2 separate regions of the Homo sapiens genome follow, and region 1 is linked to region 2. Evidence: promoter capture Hi-C in 16 types of primary human blood cells and fetal thymus (Javierre and others, 2016). All regions are on one chromosome and are shown on one strand. The core of a region is centred on a gene start or on the middle of the fragment in contact, and the rest is flanking DNA. Distances in the headings are between cores, read along the strand shown. Region 1 overlaps PHAF1 (phagophore assembly factor 1). Region 2 holds the start of CDH16 (cadherin 16).

What was found. The method cuts DNA at HindIII sites, captures the fragments that hold promoters and counts their contacts. A CHiCAGO score of 5 or more calls a contact.
Region 1: a contact is called between a fragment that was not itself captured here and the fragment with the promoter of CDH16 in region 2, in 2 of 17 cell types (erythroblasts and endothelial precursors). The highest score is 6.5, in erythroblasts.

The regions. Positions count from the first base shown.
Region 1 is chr16:67,125,162-67,132,064 of GRCh38, reverse strand. PHAF1 (phagophore assembly factor 1) reads right to left here. Exons shown (of 16, transcript NM_025187.5): 3 at 6,023-6,106; 4 at 736-779. Among named protein-coding and RNA genes, the nearest start is that of PHAF1, 19 kb to the right of the region's middle. The HindIII fragment of the contact is 632 bases long and covers 2,195-2,826 here.
Region 2 is chr16:66,914,766-66,921,656 of GRCh38, reverse strand. CDH16 (cadherin 16) reads left to right here and starts at 2,772. Exons shown (of 18, transcript NM_004062.4): 1 at 2,772-2,853; 2 at 3,579-3,636; 3 at 3,932-4,015; 4 at 5,228-5,383; 5 at 5,454-5,592; 6 at 6,279-6,437. The coding sequence starts at 3,592. RefSeq lists an enhancer at 1-15. The HindIII fragment of the contact is 16,817 bases long and covers 1-5,007 here.

The sequences.
Region 1 (6,903 bases), core at 1,261-3,760, 210 kb before region 2:
CCTGCCCCAGGAATCAGGTCCTCTTCACACCCTCAAAAAGGGAAAGGGAAGCCAGTTAAGGAGACTTACTGAAAGGAGTATTCTATCGCTTGAACCCAGGAGGTGGAGGTTACAGTGAGCTGAGATGGCGCCACTGCACACCAGCCTGGGTGACAGAGAGAGACTCCGTCTCAAAAAAAAAAAAGAAAGAAAGAAAGAAAGGAAGGAGTATTCTAGATTTTTAGATGCAGGCATGCTGCCTTGCCATAATGGGGGCGCAACAACTTTGGACTGTGCATGTCATCCCCGCTGTAATTCTAAAAAATACATTATAGCTCTAAAATGGTGGTCTCTTTGGCATTCTCTTCAGCATAGGCTTTGGAGTCAGACCTATCTGGTTTGTCCCACCTCTGTTACTCATGAAAACATGAAAAGAGGTGCCAAGAGAGGCTGTCAGCGGGAGGGCAGCTATGACCCAGGAGACTGTCACATCACCTCTGAGCTGAGGTCTGGCTTTGTCAAGTGGATTAAGTTAGATGACATATACATGAAGTGTTAAACACATCACATATTCTTAATGAGGTTTACTTCTCTTCTCCAGGAAACTGAGCAGGCTTGAAGGTTGCCTCAGGAATTCATGGCACCAGGCTATAATTCACATCTGTGACAGATGTGAATCTTTACTAACTTATGAAGATAGTAGATATGGCCTGTCTATACCAAGTGTGACATATACCAGCAGGGGAGAAAACTTACCAATATTTTAACTTTACTTTAGTCAAATCACATACTTCGATCACCTAAAAAAAAGTTTAAGAGTTGTCAATGCTCTGAAAGTGATGACAGACTAAAAATGATTAAAAATACATTTATAGAATAAATAGTAAAAAAAAAAAAAAAAAAAACTATTACCAATAGAAATTTTATGGAAGCACTGCATGTTATCTTTTGTTCTCATTTAAAATTTTTTTAAAAACTTTTTGTAGAGATAGAATCTTAGCAAAACTAAAAAACTATGTTGCCCAGGCTGGTCTCAAACTCCTGGGCTCAAATGATCCTCCTGTCTTAGCCTCCCAAAGTGCTGGGATTACAAGCATGAGCCACCATGACAGTCCTTTGTTATTTTGAAACCAGGGAAAAAACCAGTTTCCCCTTCAGCATAACCATAGCCAGTGTCCCCTTCAGCATAACCTCTTAGCTTCCCTCTCCTAGTGGACTGCTCAACAGATGTCCATGGATGCTCTGGGTCAAGGCTCTTACATGCAGTCCACTTCTGGGTCAGGCTGGAGCACACACCACCCTATAGGACAATGATCTCTTCCACAGACATGAAGCTTGTTAAGGCTCTGCTTTGGGCACTAAGCCCCCTTCCTCCCATCTCATATTTTGCTGCATTTTAAAACCCAGGTCGGGTTGCTTTAGAAAATAGCTTATTTTAGCCGGGCACGGTGGCTCACGCCTATAATCCCAGCACTTTGGGAGGCCCAGGTAGGTGGATCTCCTGAGGTCAGGAGTTCCAGACCAGCCTGACCAACATGGTGAAATCCTGTCTCTACCAAAAATACAAAAATTAGCTGGGCGTGGTGGCACACACCTGTAATCCCAGCTACTGTGGAGGCTGAGGCAGGAGAACCGCTTGAACCCAGGAGTTGGAGGTAGCAGTGAGCTGAGATTGCGCCACTGCACTCCAGCCTGGGTGACAGAGCGAGACTCCGTCTCAAAAAAAAAAAAAAAAAAAAGGCCGGGCACGGTGGCTCACGCCTATAATCCCAGCACTTTGGGAGGCCGAGGCGGGCGGATCACAAGGTCAGGAGATTGAGACCATCCTGGCTAACACGGTGAAACCGTGTCTCTACTGAAAAATACAAAAAATTAGCCAGGCGTGGTGGTGGGCGCCTGTAGTCCCAGCTACTGAGGAGGCTGAGGCAGGAGAATGGCGTGAACCCGGGAGGCAGAGCTTGCAGTGAGCGGAGATTGCGCCACTGCACCCCAGCCTGGGCGACAGAGCGAGACTCCTCCAAAAGAAAGAAAGAAAGAAAGAAAATAGCTTATTTTGAAGTTGATTTTGTTTACAAAACAAAAAGATGGAGGGGGAGGTCTATCCCATTAGAAAGCAAGCCATAATATTTGTCACACAAGTGTGACAGTATTCAGTTATGTCCCTGATGAAGAGGATCTGGTTGAAACAAGAAAGCCTCAGGACCTTTGTGAAGCTTGCTCTTTAATGGGTTCAGCCTCAGATGAAATTCTAAGAACTCAGGGCAGGGCAGAGATAAAGGAATAGGCATCACCTAACACTCCGCCATCAGTGGTGCCAAGTAATAAGCACTATGAAGTCCTCCATGCAATGGTGTCAAGGGCTTGGCAGCCAGCAGCACAGGTAGGGGCTCGGAGCACCATCTACCATCCTCCAGCTGGGAGGTTTTGCTCTCATTGTGGAGACACAAGCAGAGCTGGCTCAATATCTGTTTGTCCTGCCAATCTGAGCCTGATTGTGGAAGAGGCTGTGGGGCATTGTATGCAGGAACATCTGGCACTGCCAAAGAAACTGAGACATAATAGATAGTAGGTTCGCTTTTGGCCAGAGACCCTATCCCTAACTTTATTTAGAGACCACAACACTGAACCAAATTGGATACCTCTTGACTATAATGTAGCTCTTTTGATCCTATCTGCTAGAAAGAACTGCTCCCTCTGCTAGGCCGTCACAGCACTGGAATGAATCCTTTCCTCCATACTTGTGTATTCTGTTAAGTGGTCCAATAAGTTAAGCCCCTTGAGGGACTCATTAATTTGCATAGGGAAGGTGTTCAATTCATGTTAGGCAATTCTGCCTGGTATGAAGCTTGAAAGCATGAAAAGAAGTGCCAGGAGGGGCTGTGGAAGGAAGGGCAGGGGAACAGCTATGATTCAGAAGATAGCCAGTGTCCCCTTCAGAATATCTGGGCATGGGAATATATCATGCCAAACTGGCATGCCATTTCACTGAGGCCAGAGCCTTGTCTAGCAGAGAGCCTCTACCTTCAGCCAGAAGCCCTCCTGTTCATAGCAGGCACAGGCACTCACCTCCCTCACTTCTATCCCTACAGCTGGCCAGTCATCCCCCAAAGCTTCCCACCACCCGCCCTGTGGAAGTGAGCCTGCACGATGTTCCTCCTGTATCACTGGCACCCCACCTGCCAACAGCTATACGGGTCCAACACATATAGGTGCTTCGACCCTGCCTGATCAATGGGAAAACAGTGGACCAGAGCTAATCACAGGGCACGAAGCAGCACTTGTGGCAATGGACCCAGAGTGCTGGCCATCCTGGAGTCCTTCATGTCACTAGGAGCATCAATAAGCAGATTTCATCTCTTGGAGCTTGCTGCACTACAGGGACAAGCAGCTGGGAAGGCTAAAGCCCATGATTTTCCATCTCTGGGCTACAGAAGCTCCTGATTTCCCCAGAGGGGAAGAGATGTGGCAGCAGCCAAGATAAAAATGGAAAAGACAGGTGGCTGTAAAGGTTGTGACTTATAAAGCCTCATTCCACAGGGCTGTCTCTCTTAGGCTTGAGGCAGGGGGTGGGAAGCAACTATAGGAGGCAGCATCAGAAGAGGTGGATTCTGAAGGTGTTGGATGGAAGGGCAGGAAGATAGGTCAGGTCAGGCTGGTGCCAATCAAAAACACCTGGGTGATTACTTGCTCAGTTTCCAGAAGACTCAGGCAGGACCCCAGTCTCTCCTTCATGGGGATCCCACAGAAGGCAGAAGAGGATTGCCGGTTTGATTTTATCTCCTTTCCTATCCAAAGGTACCTCCCATTCCTCATATTTCTGTACATTTCTTCAGCTTTTCTTATTTATTTCCCAGATCCATCAACAGAGCCTAAGTGGTCAGCCACCACATATTGCCAATATCCAGTTAAAAGCCTGGCATCAGGTAGACTACTTATCCTCTCTGTCCCTCGGTTTTCTTGCTAGTAAACAGTACCTACTTCACAGGCGGGTTAGGATTAAACTAGAAAACGCATGTGAAACACCCAGCCATGTGCCTAGCATATACTAAGCACTCACTAAACATATGACATTGTCTTCACCATGCTGTGATTTTATGGGCTGCTGGACATCCCTTTTGTTGCCCATTTAGGTTACTTCCAGCTTCTCATTACCATGAAATACCGTTACCTTCCCCCAGTGTTTCTGGGTTACATTTTCTAAAGTGGACTTTTACCAAGTCAAAGGGAAATGACTACTTGTAAAGAAATTTCCATGTTACCAGATTAATTTCCCCCCAATTTTTTTTTTTTGAGACGGAGTCTTGCTCTGTTGCCCAGGCTGGAGTGCAGTGGTGCGATCTCAGCTCACTGCAAACTCTGCCTCCCGGGTTCACGCCATTCTCCTGCCTCAGCCTCCCAAGTAGCTGGGACTACAGGCGCCTGCCACCATGCCCAGCTAATTTTTTGTATTTTTAGTAGAGACGGGGTTTCACCGTGTTAGCCAGGATGGTCTCGATCTCCTGACCTCGTGATCCACCCGCCTCAGCCTCCCAAAGTGCTGGGATTACAGGCGTGAGCCACTGCACCCGGCTCCAATTTGTGATTATGCGATATTGAAGATCATCCTCTGCCCTTTCCCAGTGTGGAACTTCTGGCCATGGAGACAGGATAGAATGAGGAATTCTAATTCCACATACTGATTCTCTTTCCATGTTTTGTTTTCTCTCCTTAGCAGTTCACTTGTGACAAGGATGATGAGAACTGGTAAGTACCCAAGTCTTTTGGAAAGGCTACTCCATAACCCAAGAAGGACAACAACTCTGGCATGCCACTGCCCAGGGCCCATCCAACCTCATGACTTTGAGGCATGACTCTGGTGTCACATGACTAACCTGTGAGGCCCAGGCATTTGTAAACAGGGTATATCAAAAACAGACTGAACTGGGTGCGGTGGCTCATGCCTGTAATCCCAGCACTTTGGGAGGCCGAGGCGGGCGGATCACGAGGTCAAGAGATCAAGACCAGCCTGGCCAACATGGTGAAACAAAAAATTAGCTGGGCGTAGTGGCACGCACCTGTAGTCCCAGCTACTGAGGAGGCTGAGGCAGGAGAATTGCTTAAACCCGGGAGGCAGAGGTTGCAGTGAGCCAAGATTGCACCACTTCACGCCAGCCTGGGTGACACAGTGAGACTCTGTCTCAAAAAAAAAAAAAAGACTGGGCTGGTCATGGTGGCTCACGCCTGTAATCCCAGCACTTTGGGAGGCTGTGGTGGGCGGATCACAAGGTCAGGAGTTCGAAAACAGCCTGGTCAACATGGTAAAACCCCATCTCTACTAAAAATACAAAAATTTAGCTGGGCGTGGTGGCGTGCACCTGTAGTCCCAGCTACTCAGGAGGCTGAGGCAGAAGAATCGCTTGAACCCAGGAGGTGGCAGTGAGCCAAGATCAAGCCACTGCACTCCAGCCTGGGTGACAGAGCTAGACCTCATCTCAAAAAAAAAAAAAAAAACCAAAAACAAAAACAAAGAAAACCAGACTGGACTCAAACAGGTGTTAGCAAATTGCACTCAAATGCCAATTAAGATAGCCCTACATATTAGTAAGTTGTTTTTTTACATTTCCTCCCCAGGGTTAAAGAATCAACTCATTGCTGGTATTGTTAACCCAAGCCCCAGCATTCTAGGAAGAACAGTTTCCATTTTCTAACCAAGTTACAGTGTTTGACAAAAGAATGAAGTAAAACTATCTTGTTTTCCTACTGGACATGAAAGCCCCCTCCCCACAGCATGTTTCCCAAATCTTCAACACTCTTTCACCTTCCCCTCTGGAGCCTGGGAAAGCAGCCCTTCCCAGCCTCTTTCTGACCATCCCAACCCACTTCCATCTTCCCTCTTTTTAGGGGAACAGGCACAGCTTCAGTTCCCTACATTGTAGTGATCTCTGAACCAAAGAAGTCCACACCTACTTATAAGTTTTGAAACATCTCACAATAGCACATACTAATTAGCTCCAGAAAGACTGGCCCAGCTGGACATGAAACATTAGTTGTCATTTATAGTTACCTTAAGTCTCTGATTGAAAGCATCAAACATTAGTTTGATCCCGTCCTGAGTCAGGTTAAGAATGAGGTCATGGCTTAGAGGAGACTACAAAACAAAAATAAAATACATTCTGAGTAACTGATTTATTCACTAAGCACCTACTGAAAGCCTTACAATACAAATGCAACACACAAGGAATATCTAAGTGCAGACAGTCCCTCTCTCCTCCAGCTAATGGTGCTTGGAAACCAGAAAAAAACTGCTGCATGAACATATGGTGTTTTTTACTTCTAGCCTGCAGCTGCTGTTTCTTAATATCGGCTGAAAAGAGCCTCTCCCTTCTGGGCTTGAGTAAAAATACCTGGGGAAAAGGGACAAAGTTATATGAGTATACAGGTCATTCTCCTTTCAGGCTCCAGGGTCCACATCTGCAAAATGAAGTTCACTGCCATCGAACCTACAGAGCAGTTGGTGAGGAATACAGGTCATGTGAAAAGGCCTAGTCCAGGATCTAAACTCAGCAGATATTGCTTATGCCTATCAGCTGAACCTACATCCATTCACACTCAGGCTGTTTGTACCATCCACAGGGAACACATTTTTATTCTTTGATGGTTTAGATCAAATTCTAGGACAAAGAAATATATTGTGATCTGATTATGAGATGACCCTCTTATCCTTTTTCTCTCTCCCCCCAGCCTCCCATCCCATTTCATTTGTGCTTCTTCCTGAAAAGCCGAAGTCTAAGATCTAAAGAGTCATATTTCTGCATTTGCCCCTTCTGAATCCTGGGGGAGGGGAGTAGCAGAACAAAGCAGTGGACAGAACCCTGGTGACCTTAGGTAACTCTCAAAACTTCTCTGAGCTCTGGTTTCTTCATGGGAATACTTTCATCCCTTCCC
Region 2 (6,891 bases), core at 1,523-4,022:
ATCTGGGCGCTTCAGGAGCTGGAAGGATTTCTGAAGTTGAGGGATGGGGGCTCACTGCCCCACCCTAGTGTGTGGCCATGATGTGTTAATGTGAGGGTCCAGATTTAGCCAGCTGGGATGGGCATCGGGTCTGGTTAGAGGTTCAAGGAGCAGGAGACACAAACCCCTCCCAGTCCCTGTTATCCAGATTCTTCTCTTTCTGCACTGGGGCCTGGCGTTGCCCAACTGATTGAGGGTTCAATCACTTCACTGTCCATAAAGGGAAACAGGCTGCTCAGGGGAGCACATTCTGCCCTGGGTCTCACAACCAGGCAGGAACCCTGGGTCTCACAACCAGGCAGGAACCCTGGGTCTCACAACCAGACAGGATCTGGCTCCACAGCTGGTATTTCTGCCCTGTTCCCTCTTGAGGGGCTGGAATCAGCTGAGGTTGGGGATAGAGACCTCCGAGGGGTGGTTTGTGAAGGCACACACAGCTCCACATGGCTCCTCCACCACTTCACTGGGGTTGAGCTACGGAGGAGGCACTCACTGTTCTCTCTACCATGAGTATCCAGGCCAGAACATTCCATGCTCAGCATTGGCTAATTCAGTTTTGGTGGGAACAGCTGCCGGGAGCCCGCCCTGCCTGGAATGAGAGGTCTTGCATTTGTATAGGAAGGTGTACTCGTGCTTATGTTTAGGGATGCACCTGTCTCCCTGCCCACCCATGCCCATGGCTCCCTCACCCTCGGCACAAGTGCTGCTAAGAGTTTTTATCTACATGGTCTCAGGAAAAACCATCCCCATCTGGTGCTGGGTGGGAAGTGGCTGAGTGGGGACTGGTATACAGGTCTGCCCATCTCCAAAGCCTGGAGGCAGCCTGGGGCGAGGTGGGGGGCAGTTTCTAAGAAGGTTCTGGGCCAAGGTCCATACATTCCTTCCTTAGTTCAATTTATTCAATTTATTCATTCCCTCACCCTCGGCACAAGTGCTGCTAAGAGTTTTTATCTACATGGTCTCAGGAAAAACCATCCCCATCTGGTGCTGGGTGGGAAGTGGCTGAGTGGGGACTGGTATACAGGTCTGCCCATCTCCAAAGCCTGGAGGCAGCCTGGGGCAAGGTGGGGGGCAGTTTCTAAGAAGGTTCTGGGCCAAGGTCCATACATTCCTTCCTTAGTTCAATTTATTCAATTTATTCATTCCACAGACTCCAGGGAGCCCTGGCAACCTGGTTAGAATCCTGATTGCAGCTTATTGAATGGCAGGAGGAGGCTTGAGGGCTGCCCCTCCATGTACAGGGGAGCGCTGAGATTCACCCACGTGCTCCCCAGGGCAGAGGTAACTGCTCAGAGCTGTTGCTGCTCTGCCCCTCCTCCCCACATACTTCAAGGAATGCAGAAGGCATGGTATTTTCAGATCAAGTGAGGGTCCCCAGGCCTTCCTGGCTCTGTCACTTATTGACTGTGTGACCCTAGGCAAACCACTCAGCTTCTCTGTGCCCCAGCATGTGCCCAATGCCCCTTCAGAACGCAGTATGTGGCATAATGAAGGTATGTGCTCAGAGCAGTGCTGGGCACAGAGCAGGAGCTTAACACGTGTGAAACCCCCTTCAACCTCCCCACACTACACTGCTCCAGGCTGGGTGCCAGAGTGACCCTGAAGCAGGCACTCAGCTTGTGACAAGGCTGGGGGCAGCTGGGGGTAGCTTCTGGCCTGAGAGAGACTAATCAGATGTACAGTGGGAAGGACTTCGTGGGGACCATGGGAAGCTCCAAGGCTGGAGAGGGACTGGAGACCTTCTTCCCACCCTCTCCCCTCATTCCAGACTCCCAGGCCCCAGAAGCATCTCCTGGCTCTGCTTGGCTGCCCTCATTGCGGGGAGAGCCCCTGTTCAGCCCTGCAACTCCCTCAAGGTCACCTGAGCCAGTTTAATCTTCTTAGGGGCATGAGACTGCCCACTGTCTCAGCCCTGTCACTGTTGAGTGGCCAGTGTAAGGACTTCGGGAGCTCATAGGCTGCTGCACTCCCCCACCACAGGTCCCCCTGGGGGGGGTGGTCTGGAGCCCCAATACCCACTTCCACTCATGTACTGCTCACCCATCCTTTGCAACCTCCAGCTCCTTGTCTTAGTTCCACAAGCCATGCGGAGCTGCCAGGGCAGAATGAGAGCCAGGTCATTCCTGAGTCCCTGAGTTCTGCTCTCAAAGGGCTCCCAATCTAATGGAAGAGGCAGACAATGACAAGCTGGTGTCCTCTGTGTATTAATAGAGATAGCACATGGCATGGTGTGAGGGGGAGGGGCATTCCCAGAGGAGGCTCCTGAACAAGCCTGGGAACATAGGGGAAGTTTCCTGGAAAAAGGAATATTTGAGCTGAGCACTGAAGCATGCATGAGCAGGTGCTTACCACACAGATGAATGAGTGGGAAGGGTGTTCCATGCAAAAGGAACAGAGTGTGAAAAGGTGTGGCTGCAGACACTGGAGCCTGGGAGATAAGTCAGACCAAGTCTGGAGCCACAGAAAAAGTAACGTCCAGAACCAGAGGGCCAAGGAATACCTCCTGGGCTGTGCTGGGGTCGAGGGAGTGCCAGGCCAACCATCTCCCCACCTCCTGGAGCTGGCAGTCACGGATGCTGAGCAGCTCCTGGCTTTCCAAAGTCAATGAGTAACTTGGGGGGCTGGGCGGGGCCAGGCCTGCTGCTGTGGGCCCAGTGGCCTTTTCCACTCCTGAGCAAGCGTGGCTGAACCCTCCTACCTGCTCAAGTGCCCTGCCTTGCCCCACCCAGCCCAGCCTGGCCAGAGCCCCCTGGAGAAGGAGCTCTCTTCTTGCTTGGCAGCTGGACCAAGGGAGCCAGTCTTGGGCGCTGGAGGGTGAGGGGCTGGGAGTGGAGGGGAGGGCATGGCTGAGGCTGAGGTTGGTGGTGGGGAAAGGAGAAACACTGCCCTGTCCTCGCCATCTGGGAAAGAATTCCCAGGGCCTCATCTTAGAGGGGTTGTCGATTTGTCGCTGCTCTGCCTGCCCAGCTCCATGACAAGGGCTGGAAAATGATGAGACAAGGGCCGGGCTCCTGCTCCGGGGGTTCTCCTTGTCTAGAAGGTGGCAGTGGGAGGCAGGACAGTCCCAGAGGCCCTGAGCTAGGAGGACTCCTCCTGTGGTCAAGTCCTCTGTGACCTTGGCCAGACCCCAGCATTCAGGCCTTGCCTGCAACAAGAGGTGACTTCAGGAAGTGACCCTCCAAGTCTTCAGGAACTTTCCAGCTTCAAACTTTTGTGATTTGGGGGATTGCTAGAAAATTACCACTTTGGGATCTGCGGCCTGGGGAGGCTATGGTGAGAAGGAGCTGGAGGTCTGGAGGTGAAATTCTGATAGAGTGCTTGATGGACCAAGAGCCTAGAAGCAGGGTGGCTGGGCCTGGGGGCCTTGGTGGGCCTGGCCGAGGAGCAGGGCACTACCCTGCAGGAGATGGAGAGCCTCAGCTCCTTTGGAGGGGAGGAAGAGAAGACTAGTCTGCAGTACGATCCCACTAGTTGTGTGTGTGGGATGGAAAGCCCCTCCCTACCCACCTGGGCTGGATCCTCACTGCCGTGTCCCTCAGGCCTGTCCTGACCATGGTCCCTGCCTGGCTGTGGCTGCTTTGTGTCTCCGTCCCCCAGGTGAGCTAGGCCCTGCCCCCTCTCCTTCAGGTCTTGGCTTTGGGGGTTGACACCCTTGCCCCCAACTCCACCTGGACCAATTGCACTGACCGTGAGAACGGTGCAAGGCATGGGAGGGGTCAGAGCTGGGACTATAGAGCCACTGTGGGATGAGGAGGTCAAAGACCAGAGCGCGGGTGGATGGACTAAGGTACAGCCAGGCCCTGGGAAGGGGCGGAAATTCCGCTCTTCTGTTGGGTCTCAGTGCCCACGCAGGAAGATAGAGCCTGGTGACAAGGTGAGAATCCTCCCACAGGCTCTCCCCAAGGCCCAGCCTGCAGAGCTGTCTGTGGAAGTTCCAGAAAACTATGGTGGAAATTTCCCTTTATACCTGACCAAGGTGAGCCGGAGAGCTGGGGTTGGGGCCGGGGGGATCCCTCCCCGCAAAGTCCTGCTTCTCCTTCCTCTGGCACCCTTCCTCTTGCTGTTTCTCTTTGAAATCCTGCTTTCCAGAGAGTATGTACACGTTACACAGGTTGAGTGTCCCCTATCTGAAATGCTTGGGACCAGAAGTGTTTCAGATTTTGGATTTTTTTTTTTCTTCAGATTTTGGAATATTTGCATATATATCATGAGATATCTTGGGGAATGGAACCCAAATCTAGATAGGAAATTCATTTATGTTTCATATACATCTTATACACATAGCCTGAAGGTAACGTTATACATTTTTTTTTCTTTTGAGACGAAGTTTCGCTCTTGTCGCCCAGGCTGGAGTGCAGTAGCATGTTCTCAGCTCACTGCAACTTCCACGTCCTGGGTTCAAGAGATTCTCCTGCCTCAGCCTCCTGAGTAGCTGGGACTACAGGCATGCACCACCACTCCTGGCTAATTTTTTTTTTTTTTTTTTGTATTTTTAGTAGAGACAGGGTTTCGCCATGTTGGCCAGGCTGGTCTTGAACACCTCACCTCAGGTGAGCCGCCCGTCTTGGGCTCCCAAAGTGCTGGGATTACCACTTTGGGATTTGCGAGCTGGGGAGGCTATGGCCAGAAGGAGCTGACAGTACAGAGGTGAAATTCCGACAGAATCCTTGAGTGGCCAAGAGCCCAGTGTGAGTCTGCTCCTGGGCGAATATTTTTAATGATTTTGTGCATGAAACAAAGTTCTGACTATGTGTTGACTGTGACCTGTCACATGAGGTCAGATGCGGCATTCTGTACTTGTCACATCATATTGGCGCTCAAAAAGTTTCAGATTTTGAGTATTTCAGATTTCAGATTTTCGGGTTAGAGATGCTCAACCTGCAGTGGGAATGACTAACAGATTTTAATCCTAGTGGAGAGCAGAGCTTTAGATTAAAGAACGAAATCTCGGTGGTGAGGTTTCAAGCTTCAGAAAGAAGGGCAGAGAGTTTTGGGGAGCATCAGGTCCAGGGAAAAGAGTTCTGGCTCTGAGTCTCAGTCCTGATGCTTACTGGCTGTGTGACCTCTGACAGGAGCCAGATGTCTCTGAGACTCAGTTTCCCCACATGTAAAATGAGGCCATCAGGTGGAGGAGGGGCATCTCCCAGGCCTGGCCACCGCTCCCTTCACTTCTGTTCATTTCCATCAGTTGCCGCTGCCCCGTGAGGGGGCTGAAGGCCAGATCGTGCTGTCAGGGGACTCAGGCAAGGCAACTGAGGGCCCATTTGCTATGGATCCAGATTCTGGCTTCCTGCTGGTGACCAGGGCCCTGGACCGAGAGGAGCAGGCAGAGTACCAGCTACAGGTATGGCTGGGCCAGGTGTAGGGGAGAGCAGGCAAGGCAGAGCCAGACGCTGACTCCCCTTCCCTGCCAGGTCACCCTGGAGATGCAGGATGGACATGTCTTGTGGGGTCCACAGCCTGTGCTTGTGCACGTGAAGGATGAGAATGACCAGGTGCCCCATTTCTCTCAAGCCATCTACAGAGCTCGGCTGAGCCGGGGTACCAGGCCTGGTGAGTGACCAGGGCAGCCAATTTACAGTAAGGTCAGGTGGGCCTTGATGGAACAGCAGAGAGCGAAGAGATGGCCAGACAGTTGGCATAGGACAGGGCAGCCATTTCTGTCCCATTTCTTTTTTCTTTTCTTTTCTCTTTTTTCTTTTCTTTTTTTCTTTTTTTTGAGATGGAGACTCACTGTCACCCAGGTTGGAGTGGAGCGCAATGGCGCGATCTCAGCTCACTGCAACCTCCACCTCCTAGGTTTAAGCAATTCTCCTGCTTCAGCCTCCCAAGAAGCTGGGATTACAGGCACCCGCCACCATGCCCGGCTAATTTTTTTTGTATTTTTAAAAGAGACGGGGTTTCGCCTTGTTGGCCAGGCTGGTCTCGAACTCCTGGCCTCAGGTGGTCTGCCTGCCTCAGCCTCCCAAAGTGCTGGAATTACAGGCATGAGCCACTGCACCTGGCCCATCCTGTACCATTTCTGTCCCACCTTGTTCCTCCCTACTCCACTGAGGGTGCCATCCATTCTTGGCTTCAGTTTGCTCATCTGGGAAGTAGGACGAAAAGCCGTGGCTCATCTCCGGAGTCCTGATGTGATAATGGATAGGGAAGAAAGGACAGAGGAGAAATAGGAGAGGCATGGGAGACTCTCCCCACCCTCTCTATCCCTTACAGTTTGCCCTCCCACCGTGAACCAGGCATCCCCTTCCTCTTCCTTGAGGCTTCAGACCGGGATGAGCCAGGCACAGCCAACTCGGATCTTCGATTCCACATCCTGAGCCAGGCTCCAGCCCAGCCTTCCCCAGACATGTTCCAGCTGGAGCCTCGGCTGGGGGCTCTGGCCCTCAGCCCCAAGGGTAAGCCCGAGCGGGGTGTGCTGGGGAGGGAGGGTCAGAGAAAGCTGGAGAAGGTGGTATCTGAACCATAAGACAAGCATGGGTGGGAGCTTGAGAGGTAAAAAGGGAGGGAAGGGCACTCTAGGTGGAGACAGCAACAAGGCAGGGGGCTGTGGAGGCAGGGCCAGGCATGGAGAGCTAGGAAATGGTGTGAATGGAGGGCCTCAGCTCCACACTCCACGGAGACCTGGGCCTAAGGGACAAAGATAGGAACAGTCTAAGGGGTTGTAGCCTAAGATGCTGCTGGGCAACCTTGCGACTGATGGCGGAAGAGACCTGGACCTGGAAGCTCAGACCAGAGGCATGAACTAGGGTTGGAAAGAAAAGTGAATCAGGCATCATCATAGCCAGCCACGCATTCACCCGTCTACCGCCCAACAACCTACACAGTCCATCCAACCTCCCATCACTCATC